Regions from separate parts of the Homo sapiens genome. Here all the other regions are linked to region 3. The links are contacts of gene promoters, found by promoter capture Hi-C in blood cells and fetal thymus (Javierre and others, 2016). All regions are on one chromosome and are shown on one strand. The core of a region is centred on a gene start or on the middle of the fragment in contact, and the rest is flanking DNA. Distances in the headings are between cores, read along the strand shown. Region 1 holds the start of DLEC1 (DLEC1 cilia and flagella associated protein). Region 2 has its middle 26 kb from the start of SCN10A. Region 3 holds the start of EXOG (exo/endonuclease G).

What was found. Contacts are between HindIII fragments. The CHiCAGO score rates a contact against its expected background, and 5 or more counts as called.
Region 1: the fragment with the promoter of DLEC1 here is called in contact with the fragment with the promoter of EXOG in region 3 in 3 of 17 cell types (total B cells, naive CD8 T cells and fetal thymus); the score reaches 8.6 in total B cells.
Region 2: a contact is called between a fragment that was not itself captured here and the fragment with the promoter of EXOG in region 3, in 2 of 17 cell types (endothelial precursors and megakaryocytes). The highest score is 5.3, in endothelial precursors.

What each region holds. Positions count from the first base shown.
Region 1 is chr3:38,037,887-38,040,586 of GRCh38, forward strand. It overlaps DLEC1 (DLEC1 cilia and flagella associated protein), which reads left to right and starts at 1,322. Exons shown (of 37, transcript NM_007335.4): 1 at 1,322-1,750. The coding sequence starts at 1,340. RefSeq lists enhancers at 1,387-1,596, 1,887-2,116. The HindIII fragment of the contact is 3,706 bases long and covers 1-1,684 here.
Region 2 is chr3:38,840,951-38,843,650 of GRCh38, forward strand. No RefSeq gene overlaps it. Among named protein-coding and RNA genes, the nearest start is that of SCN10A, 26 kb to the left of the region's middle. The HindIII fragment of the contact is 4,023 bases long and covers 1-2,700 here.
Region 3 is chr3:38,494,933-38,497,632 of GRCh38, forward strand. It overlaps EXOG (exo/endonuclease G), which reads left to right and starts at 1,408. Exons shown (of 6, transcript NM_005107.4): 1 at 1,408-1,598; 2 at 2,697-2,700. The coding sequence starts at 1,436. RefSeq lists enhancers at 1,557-1,606, 1,667-1,736. The HindIII fragment of the contact is 8,358 bases long and covers 1-2,700 here.

The sequences.
Region 1 (2,700 bases), core at 72-2,571, 460 kb before region 3:
CTGTGAGCAAAAGCCATGGTGTGCAAATGACAACAGTCAATGTGATGTTATGCTGCTGCCCTGGACAAATGCAGTCCTCTTTTCCATCTCAGTGATGCTGTCATCACCCCCCTGATTGCACACACAGGATACCTGGGAGTCATTCTTGGTGCCTGTTTCTTACCTCCCATTATCCACCAGCAAGTCTTATCAATTCTACTTTTTGGATCTATCTCCAATCCAGTTCCCTCTCTCTCATCCAATCTCCCTTCATCTCTTTCCTAACTTCTGTGCTAGTTTCCTAACTGAACTTCCTGATGCCTCTTGCCTCTCCTGTCTATTCTCATAGCAATCAGAATGATCTTAGTAAAACAGAGCTGACCATGACATGCCCCAGCTTAAGACCCTTGATGAACCTCCTACTGCCCTCAAAATAAAGTCCAAATTCCCTATTGTGGCCTACCAACCCACTTATGATCTGGCCCTAACCTATCAGTGTCATTCCTCCACCCTCACACTCTTTAAGTTCCACTCCTCCTGAATTTCATTCCGTCCTTCCCACATTTTTAAATATTTTGTAAAGATGGGGTCTCCCTATGTTGCCCAGGCTGGTCTCAAACTCCTGGCTTCAAGTGATCCTCGTGCCTCAGCCTCCCAAAGTGTTGGGATTACAGGTGTGAGCCACCACACACACGCTCTTATTTAGGTACTTTTTTGTTTTTTGTCATTCTACTAACTGTAGTACTGCATTGTGGTTTTAATTTCCACTTCTTTGATGACTAATGATGTTCAGTCTACTCCTTCTTTGAAATCTCTGCTTGGTTTTCATTTGTTCCAAGAAGTAATCGCTCCTTCTACAGACTAAGTTCCTGTCCTCCTTTGTAGTTCCATGACAACCAATATTTATCTCCACCTTGGCCTTAACCCACTAAAGTACAGTTGTTTTACTTTTACCTCCACACCCACCGCCATCATCACAAACACACACATACACGACTGTGCACTTCCTGAAGGCAGAAGCAGCATCATACTTCTTTGGTATCTTCAGCAATCAGCACAGACCTGAAACACAATCTTTACACAATAAATATGATGAGTGAATGAACAGTTGCTTAACAAATTAAAGAATGGATGAAGGTAGGTAGTTAGGTACAAGGTTTTGCAGATAGGCCTGGCTGTGTCAATTAAACCTTTCTTCATGGGTCCTCACACTTAGTAAGCTCACTTTTAAAAGGACAATGCTGAAGACACAAATGTTTACAATGACCACAGCGATGACGGGATCCGAGAGAAAGGCAAGGCGGAAGGGGTGAGGCCGGAAGCCGAAGTGCCGCAGGGAGTTAGCGGCGTCTCGGTTGCCATGGAGACCAGGAGCTCCAAAACGCGGAGGTCTTTAGCGTCCCGGACCAACGAGTGCCAGGGGACAATGTGGGCGCCAACTTCGCCACCAGCCGGGTCCAGCAGCCCCAGCCAGCCCACCTGGAAGTCCTCCTTGTATTCCTCCCTCGCCTACTCTGAGGCCTTCCACTACAGCTTCGCAGCCCGGCCCCGCCGCCTCACGCAGCTTGCGCTGGCGCAGCGTCCCGAGCCTCAGCTGCTTCGTCTGCGCCCCTCCTCGCTGCGCACCCAAGATATCTCGCACTTGCTCACCGGCGTCTTCCGCAACTTGTACTCAGCCGAGGTCATCGGCGACGAAGTGAGCGCAAGCTTGATCAAGGCCCGCGGCAGCGAGAATGAGCGCCACGAGGAGTTCGTGGACCAGCTGCAGCAGGTAACGTGGCGGTGGCGTCGCGTCTGCGGACGGTGCCGGGGTCTCAGCGCTCGGCACGCGTCAGCACCTGCCAGGTGCCAGGCGCTGTTCCAGGATCTGGGGCTGCAGTTGAGAAACAGCCCATCATGCCGAAGTGGGCCCGACATTCTAGTGGAAGGACGCTCTATCCATACACACACATGCGCAAATACCACACATACCACACAACGTGCGGCATATATCTGTAGCACCTGTCTATATTTCTCTAGACACATACGTTATATATTGCATATATCAATGAACGACTGCGGCAGACCGCTGAATAGTTGTTCCATGGAGAGGATAAAGCCAAAAGTCACCCGGCTTTGGGGTGCCTTTGTATCACAAACCACAATCTTGACTGGGCCATTCATGCGCAGATTTTAGGAAGCGTGTCTAGCCTCTAGAACAGCAACTCTGCTTCCTCATCTGTACAAGGAGAAAACCAGCTGACTCGCGGCCTCTGTGCTGAGTCGGCCTCTGCTGGCCACACTACTGAAGACTCCCTTAAACTTGTGGGCACTCCTCCCATACCCGATCCTTTACCCCGGTGTGCTTCCTGCCTCTCAGATCTTCTTCTTCTCCTTTCTGTTCTGTCCTCTACCTGCCCCTTAAGTGACATGCATCCCACGTCGTTAGCTTCAGTCATTCCTTCACTTAACACATTTGTTGAATGTCTGCTGGGTGTCATACTCTGTTCTAGGCAGTGGGGATTCAGCAGTGAATAAAAACGCCAGTGTTCGGGCACACCCACACTCACACACGCAACCTGTCCTCTGTAGCTTTCAACCTAACTGAGGTAGATAGACATTAACAAAATGAATACCTATACAGTATGTGAGATACTTACAGGACCAGTCTCGCCGCCTCCACGGGTTATAGGCTTCTTAAAGTGCAGCCAGAGCCCCTGGCTGGGATCCTGTACTCTGTGA
Region 2 (2,700 bases), core at 84-2,583, 350 kb after region 3:
TTGAATATTTAAAATTTATTGAGACATTTTATAGTCCCATCTTGGTAAATGTTCTATAAGTACTTAAAAATAATGTGTATTTTGTTCTTACTGAGTTCTATAAAAATCAGAGCAAGTTGGCTGATAGTTTTGTTCAAGTCTCCTATACCTTTTTATATTTTCACTCAGTCCTGGAGTGGTCACTCCCAACTCCAGGCAGGGCGTTTCCCTCACTTGATGTCTCCCCTGATTAGTGGTCCATCCCTTGAGGCTTTGGTGCCCTCCCATGGAATAGTAGAAACCTCTCTTTTCAAACTTCAATGTGAAAATGGATGATCCAGAACATTACTGAGACCTTCACTTAGATCCAAAGCAATTTTTTTTTCAAGTATTGCTCTTTAAAACATTAATTTAGGAGAAAAACTGCGTAGAAGTCTAACTAGGGCTCATGAATCAATAGAATATGAGCCATCAGCATGATTTGGCTCCAGGTATATTTCCTATAGTCCTATAGCTCCAATATACCTCCTATACTTAAAATATAGGAAGAACTTAGAGTATGGAAAGGGGGCAGGGGAACTTGAAGCTGCACTGGCACCAATGACACAGTGTTTTTACTTAGCCTGTATGCTCATTCAGAGTATCTTGAATTGGGGGATTGGTGCAGATTAAAGGAAGCTAAATTAGTACCCCCAGGATACCTCTTGGTAGCACTACAGTCAGACTAGTACAGTTGTAGTCTACATTAATAGAAGTCTATTGTCCAAAAGGAAAAGATGTTCCATTGCTCCCTGCTCTTCTAAAACCTGGGCACCTGGTTTTAGAAGAGATAGATTAACCATATTTAGAAGAGATAGATTAACCATAGATTGCCTGAAGAAGGGAGAGAATAGAAAAAGGATGGAAGCTCTGTCAAAATATTAGGGGACCAAATACATCTACAGAACTGAGTATATTAAATTTGGAGAGGGAGCACAGCATCTCCCCAGTGTGAGTTTCCACATTGTAAAGACAACTTTAAAAACATGCATTACTTTGAGAGAAAAAGAAATGGATGCAAAAGGTTCACAGACACTAGCAAGAAAACCCTGTACCTTCTGTTTAACATCAAGCACATTGTCTCTTTTTGTCTGAGAGGCAGTGCAGTATAGTGGTTGATAGCTTGAGACCTAGAGCCAGAATGCTTGGGTTTGAATCCTGACAAAACCTCTTACTGGCTCTCGAAGAAGCCTCTTATTTCCTCTACATGCCTTAGTTTCCTCATCTGTATAATGAAGGTTACAAATAGTTTCTACCTAATAGAGATATTGTGAAGAGGTAAGGCTGGTAAAGTGGTTACCTGGCCCAGAGTAAGTGCTCAATAAATGTTAGCTCTTGTTTTCTCAGTGCTACTTTGATTACTCCTTGTGTATCAAGGGACAGGATTGCCCATTCAATGACCCCGGAGGTTCTATCTGGGTTGCCAGGCAACAAGCAATCTGGAATCAGTGGCTTACCCTCCTTGAGCAGGAGTAGCTATACAGGATTTCGGATCCCCAAGGGCATTGGGTGTTAGAAACTGACATTCCAAGACTGCTCCCTGGAATAGCTGGCTCCCTGGCCCAATTGTTTATAAGGCAAGCTCTCATCTTCGCCCTATAAAAAGGTAGAGCAATAAGGGGTGGGATTCTTTCCTGGATCCTGCATGCTGCTTGGTGGAAGGGATGAAAAGGTGGGACTGTGTATCTCATCTTGTTGACCCAATTTCTCCAAGGAAGCCTGCTCTGTTCTCACATTACATGTCATGGTATTTACTGTCACCTACTACCCCACATTCTTCTCTGAACTGTCTCACTCCTCTTCACCTTCATTCCCTGAAAACATACCCTCAGGGCAAGTCCCTTGCCTGCTTCTAGAGCTGGGTGTACTCTCTCTCTCCCATGATGTCTGCTCCTGGGGTTTCAGACATCACCTTTGCACCGAAGACTCCTGTCCACACCTTGTCCTCAAGTTCAAGTCTTGGCTGGGCATTGTCAGTTAGACCTGACATCTTAAACTTTCAAAATATTTAAAATTGAATTACATTTTAGATGTTCTTCCTCAGCCATTAAAACAAACAAACAAACTCCAACCCTTGCTCCTCCTATGCTATTAACTTAGTACCCTTTACTGTCATCTATCTTGTCCTCCCTCATGGTCAGGCAGCTGGCACAAGCATCTTGGAATCACACCGCATTGCCCTCACCTCCTTCCTGGCTCAGTGCCTCTTCCCTACCAGGATCAGACCTTGTTTTTCTCCATTCCACCTTGCACATTCTATCCAGTTATTTTTCTTCCCTGCTAAAACACCTTCAATGCCTTCTTATTATCAAAATACGCTAGAACTCCTCACTCTGGCATTTGAGGCTCTCCACAAATGTCTGTGTCTAAGATTCAGTTGCTGCTGCTCCACTCCCTATACTCCATGTCCAGTCAGTTGGGTAATTCATACTTCCTCACACTTTCTAGTTGCCATTGAGCTGCCTGTACTGTCTCCCCGACTTCAAACACCCTCCAAAACCAGGTTCACCTGTCAAAATCCTACATACCTGTCAAGCGCATCCATCTCAGATGCTCCTCTCTCAGGAGGTCTTTCTGTGAGCTTGCTTCATTCATGTCCTCAGAGCAGAGGCATGTTTCTGGTTTATTACACTTGTTATGTTGTATTGCATTATTATTGCATGGACACTCATCCAATTCTCC
Region 3 (2,700 bases), core at 158-2,657:
TTGGAGTGCAGTGGCACGATCTCAGCTCACTGCAACCTCCGTCTCCTGGGTTCAAGCAATTCTGCCTCAGCCTTTCGAGTAGCTGGGATTACAGGCACGCGCCACCACACCTGGTTGATTTTTGTATTGTTAGTAGAGACGGGGTTTCACCATGTTGGCCAGGCTGGTCTCAAATTCCTGACCTCAGGTGATCCTCCAGTCTTGGCCTCCCGAAGTGCTGGGATTGCAGGCATGAGCCACTGCGCCTGTGAGTTTTACGTCACAGCTTTGCTACCCAGAGAGACTACTAGATCGAAAATCCCTAGGAAGGACTCTGGTTGATGTAGCTTAACCAGTCAGGGTCCTTCAGAAGAGGTATTCCTGGCAAGGGGGTAGCCTCCCATTTGAGGCTGTCAAAATAATGTGCACACTTCAGTAGGTTGTTAGAAGTGGCCTCCTGGTCAGTGAATCATCAGTGGGATCAGATGAAAGTTATTCCTACCAGTTATCTAAGAAATAGGAAACTTGAAGTTTCTGCTAAGAACTAAGTCCACACGGAATGCTAGAGATCATGCTGCAAAATGAAGACTCATTTGTTTGTGAGTGGTAGTCCATGAAATCTATCCTTTCTTTGCCAGCAGGCGTTCAGCAATCTGGATTTTATATTCTATCAAGACAAAGAGTAGAGATGACTCAAACATTTCTAACATTTATAGAGCACTTAGTGACATGCCCCTGGTACTTCCCTAAACATTTTACATGTGTCATCTCCTTTAATCCTCACAAGAACGCTATGGTCTAAGTATTATTATTCCAATTTAAAAGAGAAGGTTGGGGACAGTGACACACACCTGGACTTACAGCACTTTGGGAGGCCGAGGCGGGAAGATTGCTTGAGGCCAGAAGTTGGATACCAGCCTGGGCAACATAAGGAGACCCCCTTCTTTACCGCTCCCCCACTCCCGCCAAAAATTTAGCCGGGCAATGTGGCACGTGCCTGTAGTCCCAGCTACTCAGGAGGCTGAGGCAGGAGGATCGCTTGAGCCCACGAGTTCGAGATCGCAGTAAGCTATGATCATTCCACTGTACTGCAGCCTGGGTAACAGAGACCCTGTCGCTAAATAAATAAATAGACCTGAGTTGGAATATCGGCTCTGGAGACCTTAGTGTAACCATGCGCAAGTGTTTACTCACCTATTAAATGAGACTAAAGGTATTTTCTTCTCATGACTATATATAGCATACCACTAAGCCCTCTAGACATCATATTCCCCATCCATCGCCCCGTCCAGTGGACCAGGGATGAAGCGGGGATGCGCTAGGCATCCCGGTTTGTCACCAGGGGGCGTGCGAGGCCCTCAGCTTGGCGGGCGGTGAGGCGTGGGGTGACGGGGGGATGGCGGGGGCCGGCATGCGCGCGCATGCGCCGTGGTAAAAGGCCGGTACCTCGGGCAAGATGGCTATCAAGAGTATCGCTTCCCGCCTCCGGGGTTCCCGTCGTTTTCTGAGCGGCTTCGTGGCTGGGGCTGTAGTGGGCGCTGCGGGAGCTGGGCTCGCGGCCCTGCAGTTCTTCCGGAGTCAGGGCGCTGAGGGAGCGTTGACAGGGAAGCAGCCGGATGGTAAGTCTGTGGGCCCGTCCTCCCTTCGCTGGCCCAGATTTCGGGCTCCGACTCCTACCTGGAGTGTGAATGGCAGTCCTTGACGGACAGCCTTCACCGTTTGCTGGGCCCCTAGCCTGGCCCTTGGTTTCTGACCTTTATTCTCCCGGCTCGGCCTCCCTTCCCCACCTCGCGTCTCGCCAGCTTCCCTCATGTCCTTCCTTCCCCCGGGCATCTTCGTTTTCTGCACAGAACCACCCCCGCCGCCCGACTTTCTTCCCCCCAGTTACTCATCGCGATATCTATGTTTTAATGTCTGTGTTCTCTACTAAGATTGTTAGCTCCATAAGACTTGAGACTATGTCTGTTTTGGTCTCCATCATCTAACCAGCACAGTACCTGGTACATAATTGGCATTCAGTAAGTATGAATGAAGGAATAAATTAATACATAATTTTAGTAGATGAGTTAACTGCCCTTCTTTCGTCATTGTTCAGTTGAAGAATACCTGCTATCCCTCCAAAGTGTATAAAAACTCATGTTGCAATGGGTACCTTATATTTGACAAAAAAAAAAAAAAAATTAACACGAGCTCATTTCTTGTACTTTGCGGATGTGCTAATTTAACTTGCTCCTTTGGATACTTGGCATCTAGCAAGAGAACTACCCCCTTGGGGGGTTGAGGATTTGAGAAGGCATCGGGGAGGATTATCTCGAAACTGACTCACTGCTGAATGTGTGCTTGGTTTCTCCCACTAGGAAAAACAGTACCAGTTTTACTGTCATCTTGCAACAGCACACATATCAGTGCTTCAGAGATGATTTGGAAATTTGATGTGAAAGACTAATAAGATCAAGTCTTTATTCAAAAGTTAATGCAGTAGCTGCATTTTATTCACTGATTATAGGCAAATCAGTACTTTGCCTACTGTCTGTTTTCTTCATCTCATAAGTAATTGCAAAAATGAGATTTTCTGGTTGATTAGACTTCTGAGCCAGTCCTTTGTAAATCACACCGCTCTCCTTTTCCTTATAATCTTTCATTATTAAGAGCCACTAATTGTGTGTGTGTGTTTTTTTTGTCTCTGCCCCCCCTTTTTTTTTTTTTTTCATTTTTAGGATC